Regions from separate parts of the Homo sapiens genome. Here region 1 is linked to region 2. The links are contacts of gene promoters, found by promoter capture Hi-C in blood cells and fetal thymus (Javierre and others, 2016). All regions are on one chromosome and are shown on one strand. The core of a region is centred on a gene start or on the middle of the fragment in contact, and the rest is flanking DNA. Distances in the headings are between cores, read along the strand shown. Region 1 has its middle 76 kb from the start of MIR148A. Region 2 holds the start of NFE2L3 (NFE2 like bZIP transcription factor 3).

Region 1 (5,520 bases), core at 1,986-4,485, 280 kb after region 2:
ACGGAGCTGTGCCTGTGCTAGCCTGCTAGAGGGATGGGGAGACTCACAGGTAGGCTTGCCAGATTCAGCAAACATTTGGGATATACTTACACTAAAAAAGTATCTATTGTTTATCTGTAATTCCAATTTAACTGGGTATCCTGCATTTTATCTGTCAACTGTACACATAGAAGAGCTCCCAGAGACATAGTTCTGTATTAGTCAGCCAAGCCTAACCCCCAAACATATGAGTGAGCCTGGCCAAAATCAGCAGATACATCTTCCCAATCCCTGGTTGATGACAAGTGCACAAGTGAACCCAATTGACACCATCAGAACCGGCCTTAGACTCAATAACAAAAAATCAGTATTGACTGACATGTAGACACTGAGGTTTGGTGGCTGTTTGTTACACAGTATTATTGTGGCAGTAGCTGACTAATACAAGGACCGTCAGTGTAAAAAATGTTCTGGGAAAATAAATTAGATTGGAGTGATCTAATTGGTCACTTCAGATGCGAGTGATCTAATTGTTGTGATATCTCCTATGTATTCTATACAGAAATAGCAGGAAAGCAATATCTTGACATGCATTCCAATACTACAATATCCAGCGTAAGTACACATTAATAGATGTATCTTGTGCGTGTTTCTGCCTTTGTGGGGCCTTGCAATTGTTCTGGCATTTTGTTTTAAATGACCCAGTTTGAGGTTTTACATCTTTGTTACAGAAGAAAATGCCAGAATGAGACAATGTAGCCTTTTCAACTTCCTCTAGCCCTTTGATACGTTCTCTCTGGATTAGTGTTTCTTCTGCTGTTTCTTTTCTGCCTTTATATGACCCCTTTCTCACCCTTCAGGGAGGTGGATGATTTAAGTGAAGGTTGGTTCTCCCTGCCCTGTAATTGTGCTTCATCTCCACTCATGGTTACATTTCCAAAGCTCAGATTCATCTATCAGAGGCCCTGAACTATGTATCTTGTCGTTGTATTAGGTTGGTGCAAAAGGAATAGCAAAAACACAATTTCTTTTGCACTGAGGTTGGTGCAAACCAAGGTTGGTGCAAAACTTTTCAAAGCACATTCACATTTATTACTTCACTGATTCCCCATAATCTCCCCATGAGAACAATTGGGCCAGGCATTGGTATCTCCCTTTGCAGATGAGGAAGCTGAGTCTCAGAGAGTTCAAGTGATTTTCCCAAGGTCACACAGCCTATCTAATGGAAGAATTAAAACTAGAACCCAGATTCTTGTTTCCTAACCTGGGACTCTGTCTGGTATCCTCTGCTGACTCCTTCATTCTGGGGCTTTGGCTAATTGATGTCATAGCCAGGTGTTTGATGGGTACCTGAATAATATTTCTGTCTAGGAGTGATTCGAGTGGAAACAGGGCATTCTTAAAGAGGCCATTAGAAATCCCCAGACCTCCACTAAAGCAGGTTTTGGTGCAGATGACTGACGACTGTATAAATGCCTTCACCTTGTAACAGCCGGTCTCAGCCTCCAGAACAGAGTCCTACATTGTGGATTAATCGCTCCATATCTCTGTTTTAAAATCATGTTATGGTCTTTTAAAGGTATGTTTTAAGATGTAATGTTCTGCAAGGAGACATGGTCCATTTAAAAGCAGTGCTGCTTTAAGGTTGCTGGTTGAGGAGAACAATTGAATGCAGATGAAGGGAAAAGTACCAGGAAACGTCTTTTTCTCTGAATCTATAAAGCAAAGGCATAAGCCACCCACCAAAATGTTAGACTTGCCTTGATTCTTTTTTTTCTTTTTAGAGATGACCTCTTGCTAGGTTACCCAGGCTGGACTTGAACTCCTGGGCTCAAGTGATCGACCTGTTTCAGCCTCCTGAGTAGCTGGGAGTACAGGTGCATATCACCATGGCTGGCAACTTGCCTTGATTCTTTGCTTCATCTGAATTTTGGAAGATTGGTGACATTATCATTGGTATCAGTGGAACAACTATCCTGATTTGCCTCGGATTGAGAGATTTCTTGGCATGGGGGCTTTGAGTGCTAAAACTGAGTCAGTCCCAGGTAAGGCTTGGTCACCCTATCCCATCCCTGCACAGCCCTTTGAGGCAAGCTGACGAACACACCTTTCTCCTCCACCAAGAGGCAGCTCATGTCTCCCACCCTGTCCATCCTAAACAAAAGAATCCTCATACAGGGGAAATACACAATATGGATGTGCTGAAGTAATACAAGAAAGAATGACATGCCCTGGTCTTCCAACACTGGTCTGTACCCAACTAGAAAAGAGGACTGGCTTGGGAATTAGCAGACAAGCTCAATTATTAACTTTTGTGTTAACTTTTGCCAAGCGACTAATTTACTGCCACTGAGTTTTCCTGTCTGTAAAGAGGGGCAACAACTAGAGGTCTCTAAGCTTTCTTCTCCATTATACACTCCAAAGCTTGATTGTATAGGAACCAATACAGTGCCTCCACCCTGCCCGAACTCATTGTATCCTTAAGTCCCAGAAATTGCACACCAAGCCATCTTGGAGGCCTCTCTTTTAGCTCAGCCCAAATAATGAACCCAGCTCAGGGTCAGACATGGGGTAGAGTCTCAGCGCTTTTGCTCAGGGGTAGACCCTTTAGCTTAGTGCTGTCTGATAAAATTTTCTGCAGTGATGAAAATATTCTGCATTTGAACTGTCCAATATGGTAGCCATTAGTCACATGACTATATTTTAAATTTATTAAAATGAAATTTAAATTTTAGTTCCTGAGTCAGAATAATCACATTTCAAGGGCTCACTAGCCACATATAGCTAATGGCTACAATATTGGACAGTGCCAACTGAGAACACTTCCATCATTGCGAGTTGTTCTATTGAGCACCATAGTTTTAGAGGACCATTTTGAACATTTTCTCAGTAGCTGGGGAAGTATCCAGAGTAGAAAAATGAGGAGAAAGACAGGAAATGGGAGGGAAAGTGGCCATCACCAGCAATAAACTTCATCTATTGGCATGGAATTGTGGGAACAATGTAGCCAGCTTATTGGAAATGGGACATCTTAAATCTTATTATAGGCAACAATCTTCCAAAAGTCAATTAAAATGCGTGAAAATATATCCTTCAGTGACACCAAGGTGGAAGTTCAGGCATGGAAACTTTCTTTTCACGAACACCCCTAACTGGGCTAACTCTTTGTTTAACAATAGAAAGCACCAGGCAGTACCATTAATCAGCTAAATGTAAATGTGGAAAATTACTTTTTTTGCAAGAATCATGATAGGAGATTTTTTTCCCCCAAGCATTTTGTAGAATAAAAAAAAATACATGGAAAGTGTTTTGTTTATTATTGAAATAAAGCAAAAATCAAAATTCATGGTTAAGTGTTCAACTCTTGAAAGCAGCATTACTGTCCTTGCTTAGGGAGTAAATAAAGAATATTTTGTAGAATTGGAGCCCCAGTAAGGATGTTGGCAACAAAGCATTGCAATTCCAGCAGTAGATTCTTAGTTCCAACTCTGGCACTGGAATCTCTGTGACCTAGGGCAACTGACTTAATCTCCCTGGCCTCAGTTTTCATCTTGAGTTGGAGAAAGATGGCATTGGACAGGGTCCCTGGCATCATTAACATTCTAGGATCACTTTTGTGACCACATTCCTGACTTCTGCCATAGACATTAATGCTTACATCTTTTATCATAGCCATAAATATTGTTTCTTTTAACACTCACAGATGATCAGTGTTGTCAGTTGCCCTCACTGAAGGCTCCCATAATCAAACCTCTAAGCACTGTAGGCCTGGCAAACCTTCAGGTTTTCTGAAACCCTCATACAGGGGGATACTCAGCATTAAACTACTCTGCTCAGAGTGAGGAGTGAACACCTCTCAGAGAAATAGGAGCCCCAGCAACCGTAGACCTACCCAGAGGTGAGAGCAGAGGCTCCACCCTACTTGTAAGTGCAGCTGTAGTGTTGGAGCCATTTCCAACTTGGCCACTCATCAATGACATGACTTGGAACAAGTCCTTTCACTTCTCCAAACCCCAGTTTCCTAATCTGTAAAGGAATCATAATACTGTGGTTGCAGGCAAGGTAAGTTAGGAAGCTAATGAAGCTTAGGTTTCAGGGTCTCTCACTTGCATGGGCCCCTTTCAAGGCCCTGTGCATTGTTATTATTATTTTTTTTAGAGACAGACTCTTGCTCTGTCACCCAGGCTTCAGTGCAGCCATGCAATCACATCTCACTGCAGCCTGTAACTCCTGGGCTCAAGTGATCTTCCTGCTTCAGCCTCCTGAGTAGCCAGGACTATAGGCGTGAGCCACAGTGCCTGGCCATTTTGACATTTGTATAATTTCATAATCTTTTCCTCAAAGAAGGGCCCCCAAATTATATACGATTCAGGCCCTACAAAACCTTTAGCAAGACGGCACTTGGATACACTGCTGTCTCCTGAAAGAGATTACTCAACAAACAAGATCTGGTGAAGCCAGCCTGGTCTGCAGCTTTTCTGTTTCTTCCAGATGCCATCCTCTCTCACATCTCAGCACACCTGTGAGCAGTGCTGGCCTGTGCCTCTGGACACCACAGGAAAGGTGACACTTATCAGTCACCAGCCCTTCTTGGGCACTACAGTGTGTGTTCTTAGAGGCCACAGAATTATGGAATCTGAGAGCCAAAAAGAACCTCCAGGGACCTTTTACTTTACTCACTCCTTCCAACAGGTGTTCCTTCCTCCCCTTTCTTTCAAATTCTCCCCAAATAGAGATTTCACAGTCTCCTTTAAAAGCCTGGTCTGGTATTACATCATCAATATTCTTAGGGATATTTTCCTTAGGACTAACCCTATTTTCTATTCTAATTCGGATATGACAATGCTTTGAACCTTCTTTTTAGTTCTGTTTTATGCAGATTACTGGACACTTTCACAGACATACTTATGTGTTTTCCTGAACCTACTGAATTAACATCCTTCTTTTAGAAAGAGGTAACTGAGGTTCAAGGTGATACGAGATTTGGCCAACGTAATAGATGGTGGGGTCAAGACCCTGGGAGGAAAGTTCTATTTATTATGGCCATTGTCTCCAGAGGGGGATTCTTGACCTTGGAGATGTCACACAATCTTTGAGACAGCCAAAGTTTATAAACAGCTTGCTTGATTCCCAGGGGCTGTTGTTTCTGTTATAGGATGGCTGTCTCCATTTCTGTCAGCTGCCACTGGCTTTGTCACTAAAGCCTCTTTCCTGGGTCACTGGGCTCAGAATTCTGTTTTTCTCCTTGGTGAAAATCCAAACTTTCAGTGGGGTGCTAAAGGAGGTACTTGTGCCTCAACTCTTCACACACACTACCCCCTCTCCCACCACCATCCCCATTCATTATTTAAAAATGAAATCACAGTCTATTCTTTCTTCATTCATTCATTCCAAAATTATTTATTGGGTGCCTGTTATGGGCATGACAGTAATCCCATAACCTCCCCCAGAATGCAAGAAAGCAAGCATTTAAAGAGGTCTAGATATGGCAAGCGACATCAGCAAGGTGGCAGAAGAGGAAACCCCAGGCCCTCATGTCCC
Region 2 (5,517 bases), core at 1,049-3,548:
CCGAGGACTGAACAGCTTCCTCTCTTCTCCCTCCAGGTCCCTGTGCACTTTGCACACAGGTTGGCATTCGGGTGTGGGTGGCAGAGTGCCATCTGGTACAGCATCCAGCACTAGGTTTCAACTCTGTGTTACAGAACCAGGAATGGTGGTAGTGCACAAGTACTCACTTATTAGAGGGCAGAGCATTTAGGTGAGACAGACCCCATGGGGTCCAGATTGGATGAGTGAGTGGGGAAGAACCTCCCACAGTATATCCTGAACACAGAAGGATCCCTCCAAGACTCTCACTGGCCCCCACCCCATTGGTTCCGGTCCCCAGGAAGAGGAAGGGCTCAGATCAGCATAACAGTGAATCACCGAGCACTTCCACACAATGACCCCTCCAGGAGGGTGGAGAAGCTTGTCTGGCAACAGCCTACACAAACGGCAATTCTGAAGAGCAACAAACAAACCAGTTTAGCCCCAATTCCCATTTTGCATAAGAATGCGCCCCACAAAAACAACACCCGAAGAACATTAGTTGATCACCACTGGTTGATCGTTACCAGTTGCAAACACTAAAGTTTGAGCCAAGACAGAATTTTAAAAGTCCCCTGGAAGGAACTTTGGGTAAAGTGGTTTTGTGGAAACTGGTGTTAAAGTGTCATTAGACTGAACTCAAACGTTCCATGGGGAGCACCAGATGTTTCAAGCAACAGATCTTGGTAAACTTGGTTTCAGAAAGAAGTTAAGCCAGAGAAGGGTTTGGACCCATAAACCAAAGGGAACTTGTTAGTCACTAAGTGACTGCCAAGGTACCTGTTTTCGTTATGCTAATAAGAGGTTACACAAATTCCAGGAAGGAGGATTGCTAGGTGCAGGGGATGGTTAGGTCACAGGGGGACCGCCTGCCGGCTGGCCTCTGAATAGACCCTGACCATGGCTCCTTAATCCAGGGAAGCAGCAAAAACGAACAGCAATTGGGCTGAAAACAGGGCGAAGGTCCTTGCGTTAGGCCGGGAGAGTCGTTCTTAAAAACATGCATCCTCCCAGAGGTCACGGCCTCCTTCACATCGTCCAGGTCGGGCACGGGTCCCAGAGAACGACACCCCAGTGTACATGAGGTACTGAGCGAAGACAGTGGGCATTGCTTCTCCCCTCCCCATCCCCGAACTACTCTTGCCAGCCATCACACACAAGGAAAGGTATTCTCTATAACCAAACGGATGATTTCGTCCACTTCTTCCTTAAACACCTAAAAACCACAGCGACAGCACTAGTAGCCCTTCATTCGGAATCAGAGCAGCAGCATCTGCGAACCTGCAAAGACCAGGGGCTAAGGGTGCCAGGACACAGCGAGAGTGGCCCCTGCTCAGATCCGACACAAGCCTCGGGGGCTCCCGGCGGCGTAGACGCCGCACTTCGCTCGCTTCCCGCTCTGCACCTACCTCGCTCGCACATCCGCCAGCGTCCGGCACCTGAGCCGTCGGTTCCGCGGGTGCCTTCTCCTCTTCCCCGGCGTCCAAGGGGCCACTCCGAGCCGCTCGGGGGTCCCCGCCGCCCCCCTGCACAGCCTGGCTGCCGCCGTCCACGCTGGCGCCGGCTCCTCCGGTGGACGAGGCGGCGGCGGCGCCGAGCAGCCCGTGGGCCTCGTCCGCGCTCCCGGCAGCCACGCTGTGCACCAGCCATGCATCCACGCTGGTGCGAGGGACGAAGGGGACCCCGAGCGCGCGCACCTCCCGGAGCAGCTGGCCCTCGGGCGGCGCGGCAGGGTCCAGCTCCCGGCCCTTGGGGTGCAAGTGGCCCGCGCGCCCCCACCCTCCCGAGGCCGAGAAGGGGCTGAGCGCGTAGGCGGAGCTGGCCGGGCCGCCCAGGAACAGCAGCTCGTCCTGCAGCAGGGTGGGCGGCGGCAGCAGCAGGTAAAGATCTAGGTCTACGCGGAGCCCCGCCAAGCTCAGCAGGAGGGTGAGGTGCAGGAGGCCGCCGCCGGCCGACCACCACCGCTTCAGGTGCTTCATCGCCGCCGCGCGCCCGGGAACGCCCCTGCCGGCGCCCGCGGGTCCCGGCGCCCCAGCCGCCGGGGTGACACGTGCGGACCCCGCGCGCCGCCCGCACCTGCCTGGAACCCAGATAAGCGAAACAATGGACCGGGGCGCGTGGCGGCCGTCGCGGGTTCCCAGCACCGGGCACAAAGGCGTTCCCTCGGCAGCCGGCACCGTGCCTGGCACCGCCGGGGATCGGGAGAAGCGAAGAAGGAGCCACCTGAGCGCCGAGCCCGTTCGCCCAGCCGCCCGCAGCCCGGCGCGGTGGCCAAGCTCCGCCCCCGGCCGCGGGCGCAGCCGACAGGAACACGCCCCCTGCCGCCCGGGGCCCGCGCCCGTGGGAGGGGCCGCACGGGGCGGGGCTCCCCGAGCTCAAAGCCTCTTTATGTCCGGGGAACGCAAGGCTTTCTGGGAGCAGAAGTTGTTCTGGGCACCAAGTGGCCCCTTGCCACCCTGTGGCCGTGAGCTGGGCCATCCTTGCTGAAAGCCAAGGGCGGGAGTTGGGGTGGAGGGCTAGGTGGTGGGTAGCTGGGTGGGAAGGGACAGGATGTGTAGACTGGGCGGAGAGTGACTGGGCAGCTACGAGGGGCCTGGCAGCTTGCAACGGGCTTCCACCCCAACGTGAGGACACTTGGCGGGCAGAGTGGGCAAGAGTAACCTCTCTGTCTCAGTTCCGCTATCTGTAAAATGGGGATCATAGAGCCTGTCAAACAGGGATGTGTTGAGGTCAGATGAAATATTTCGTGTAAAGTTCGGAGTTTCACATATAAATTCCACCGTTGCCATTGGGATCAGTCATCCCACCACTCCGCACACCCCAGTCCCAGCCTCACAGACCCCTCTCTCTTCTCTGGGCGTGCTCTGCATAGTGCTAGACCTCCTCTCGGTATCCTTTGCTCCTTATCCGTTGTTTCCTTGAGGGTTGACAGCACCAGCTCTACAGTTACCCTGAGTGAGTTCAAGTCCCCCCTCCACTTGAGGGGCGACCTTGGACAAATCTCTCCTTTTCTCTGTGCCTCAGTTTTCTCACTGTAAAATGAGACTAATAATAGCACCTCCCCAGCAGACCTTTTGTGAGCCCCAAATGAGATAATGCATGTAAACCACCGACCACAGCACTGCATGGGTAGGAAGTGCTCCCTGCTACCCATTGTTTGTGTTACTCACCCTCAAGGCTTAGCTCCAAAGCTACATCCTCTGAATTTTCACCAGTTGGCATTAATCTCTCCCCCATCTGTTGCACCGTGATTTCTCCGTTTGCCAACATTGTAACAGTTGGCCCATTCAACTCTGTGTTGTAGATGAGAATCGGTCTGATTTGCCCATTGTAAATTCTTGAGGACAAGGAACCTGTTTGGTTCACCTTTGTCCATGCACAGTACCCAGCACTGGGCCTTGCAAGGGTAGGTTTTACTAACCTTAGCTCCCTTCCTTGGAAGAAAAGGGGACAGGAGGGGATGCCCAACTGAGAATGGGCAGTTGTGTAAAAAGTTGAGCAAGACTTGTTTTAAAAGGCCCCTCCCTCCACCTGGCTTTCTCATCTCTCTCCTGGGCTAGTGTAGTAAGAAGAGAAAAGAATGGGGACCAGGGGAGCAGAAACAGGGGAGCAGAGGAAAGTTGCTTCCTCTGTGTTAAGCCTTGGAAGATGGGTTGGGGTGGCAAAGAGGATGAAGAAAGGTGATTGCCAGGTTATCAAGACCCCGTTCACAGCATTTAGTCTTTGAACAGCGGATTTAGAGTCTCAGCTTAGTAAATGCTGCCTTCAGCTTTTTACTGAGAACCTACTAACTGCCTGAGGCTGTGCTGGAGGCATGAAGGATATGAAACGGAGTTCTTTCCTTCCGTAAGCTTATGGTTTTACTAGGGAGATGAGATAAAAATTTGTGAGACACTAAGAAACAAGAGAAATAATGTACTCAATTGCCAAAATACTTAGATGTAAATTACTTCAAGGTTTATATAGGGAGCTCTAAAACTATTGAGAGTAGAGGCGGTGCCTTCTTCAAGGCGGTGCCCTCCAGAATCTTACACACAGTTGATGCTCAAAAAAAATATTAGTTGAATTGAGGAGGTTACACTTGAGATGTATTTTGAGAAATCTGAATAGACTGGGAACAGGAAGCACATACAAACTTCTAACATTTGTTGGGAAGTGGGCTAACCCCTCACCATTTTACAATGTGAATTGGTAATCATAGTGTTAAATATCTTTCAGACTATACACTTCAAAAGCATGGCTTAACTCTGGCTCTTGACTGGTGGGAAGAACAAGGGTACCTAAAAGACCTTGCAGGAAAGTGTTAACCAGGAGACAATCCTACATACCCTTGACTTTACTCACAATAAAAAGTCCCACTTTTAGGAGCATGGGGAGAATGGAATGAAATTAGAAGGAAAAACTTCTCTTTAGGTTTATTTCTAGAATCCTCCATCTAGGAATAGCCAAGTGAAAAGTCCAAACCATTGTCTTGTAAAAGCCTTGAAAAGTCATCTGCATTCATAAAATCCTGAAATCAGTGCTACTCAAAGGTTGACCTGAAACTGATGCTCATGTGTAAACTATTTGCTTCTGATCCAAATGAGATAAGTAATAGAATTGAGAATTTAAAGAAAAAAAAATTTTTTTTTGTAGAGATGGAGTCTTGCTGTGTTGCCCAGGCCTGTCTTGAACTCCTGGGCTCAAGCGATCCTCCTGCCTCAGCCTCCCTAACTGCTGCAATTACAGGTGTGAGCCACCATGCCTGGCCTAAAGAAATTTTTATAGCAATTTGACATCATTACAACATCAACAGATGAGCTGAGGTTTTGGGTTTTTTAAATGCCTTTGTAATTTCATTTTTCTAGAAATGAATTTCTATTTTATTTGACAAAAGTGCTGACTTGCAACAAATTGAAAAAATTTTTTTAAAGTTGATTCTTCAAAGGGTTAGTTTGAGAAGCACCACCTTAAATGGCATCCTGGTAGGGTAGGCAACTCCCAAGATAATGTCCAGTGATTATTCCCTTCCCTATATTCCCTAGTGTGGGCTAGACCTGGTGATGTGCTTCTAATAAACAAAATATGGCAAAAATGGTGGGCTTTCATTTCTGAGTTTAGATTACAAAAAGATGGAGTGGCTTTTATCTTGCTTACCCTCTCTCCCACTTTCTCCCTCTTGGAGCCCTCACTCTGGGGGAAGGAAGCTACCATGGTTGTTGTTTTTTTTTTGTTTTTTCTTTTTTTTTTTTGAGATGAGGTTTTGCTCTTGTTGCCCAGGCTGGAGTGCAATGGCGCGATCTTGGCTCACTGCAGCCTCTGCCTCCCAGGTTCAAGCAATTCTCCTGCCTCAGCCTCCTGAGTAGATGGGATTACAGGCGCCCACCAACACGCCCAGCCCAGCTGTTTTGTATTTTTTTTAATTTTATTATTATTTTTTTAAATTGATCATTCTTGGGTGTTTCTCGCAGAGGGGGATTTGGCAGGGTCATAAGACAATAGTGGAGGGAAGGTCAGCAG

Evidence for each region. The method cuts DNA at HindIII sites, captures the fragments that hold promoters and counts their contacts. A CHiCAGO score of 5 or more calls a contact.
Region 1: a fragment that was not itself captured here is called in contact with the fragment with the promoter of NFE2L3 in region 2 in 2 of 17 cell types (fetal thymus and erythroblasts); the score reaches 6.7 in fetal thymus.

What each region holds. Positions count from the first base shown.
Region 1 is chr7:25,871,142-25,876,661 of GRCh38, reverse strand. No RefSeq gene overlaps it. Among named protein-coding and RNA genes, the nearest start is that of MIR148A, 76 kb to the left of the region's middle. The HindIII fragment of the contact is 1,660 bases long and covers 2,406-4,065 here.
Region 2 is chr7:26,148,979-26,154,495 of GRCh38, reverse strand. It overlaps NFE2L3 (NFE2 like bZIP transcription factor 3), which reads right to left and starts at 2,298. Exons shown (of 4, transcript NM_004289.7): 1 at 1,428-2,298. The coding sequence starts at 1,997. RefSeq lists enhancers at 1,210-1,399, 750-1,543, 1,544-2,338, 5,347-5,517 and silencers at 1,520-1,589, 1,600-1,849, 1,960-2,029, 2,040-2,109, 2,130-2,509. The HindIII fragment of the contact is 3,470 bases long and covers 402-3,871 here.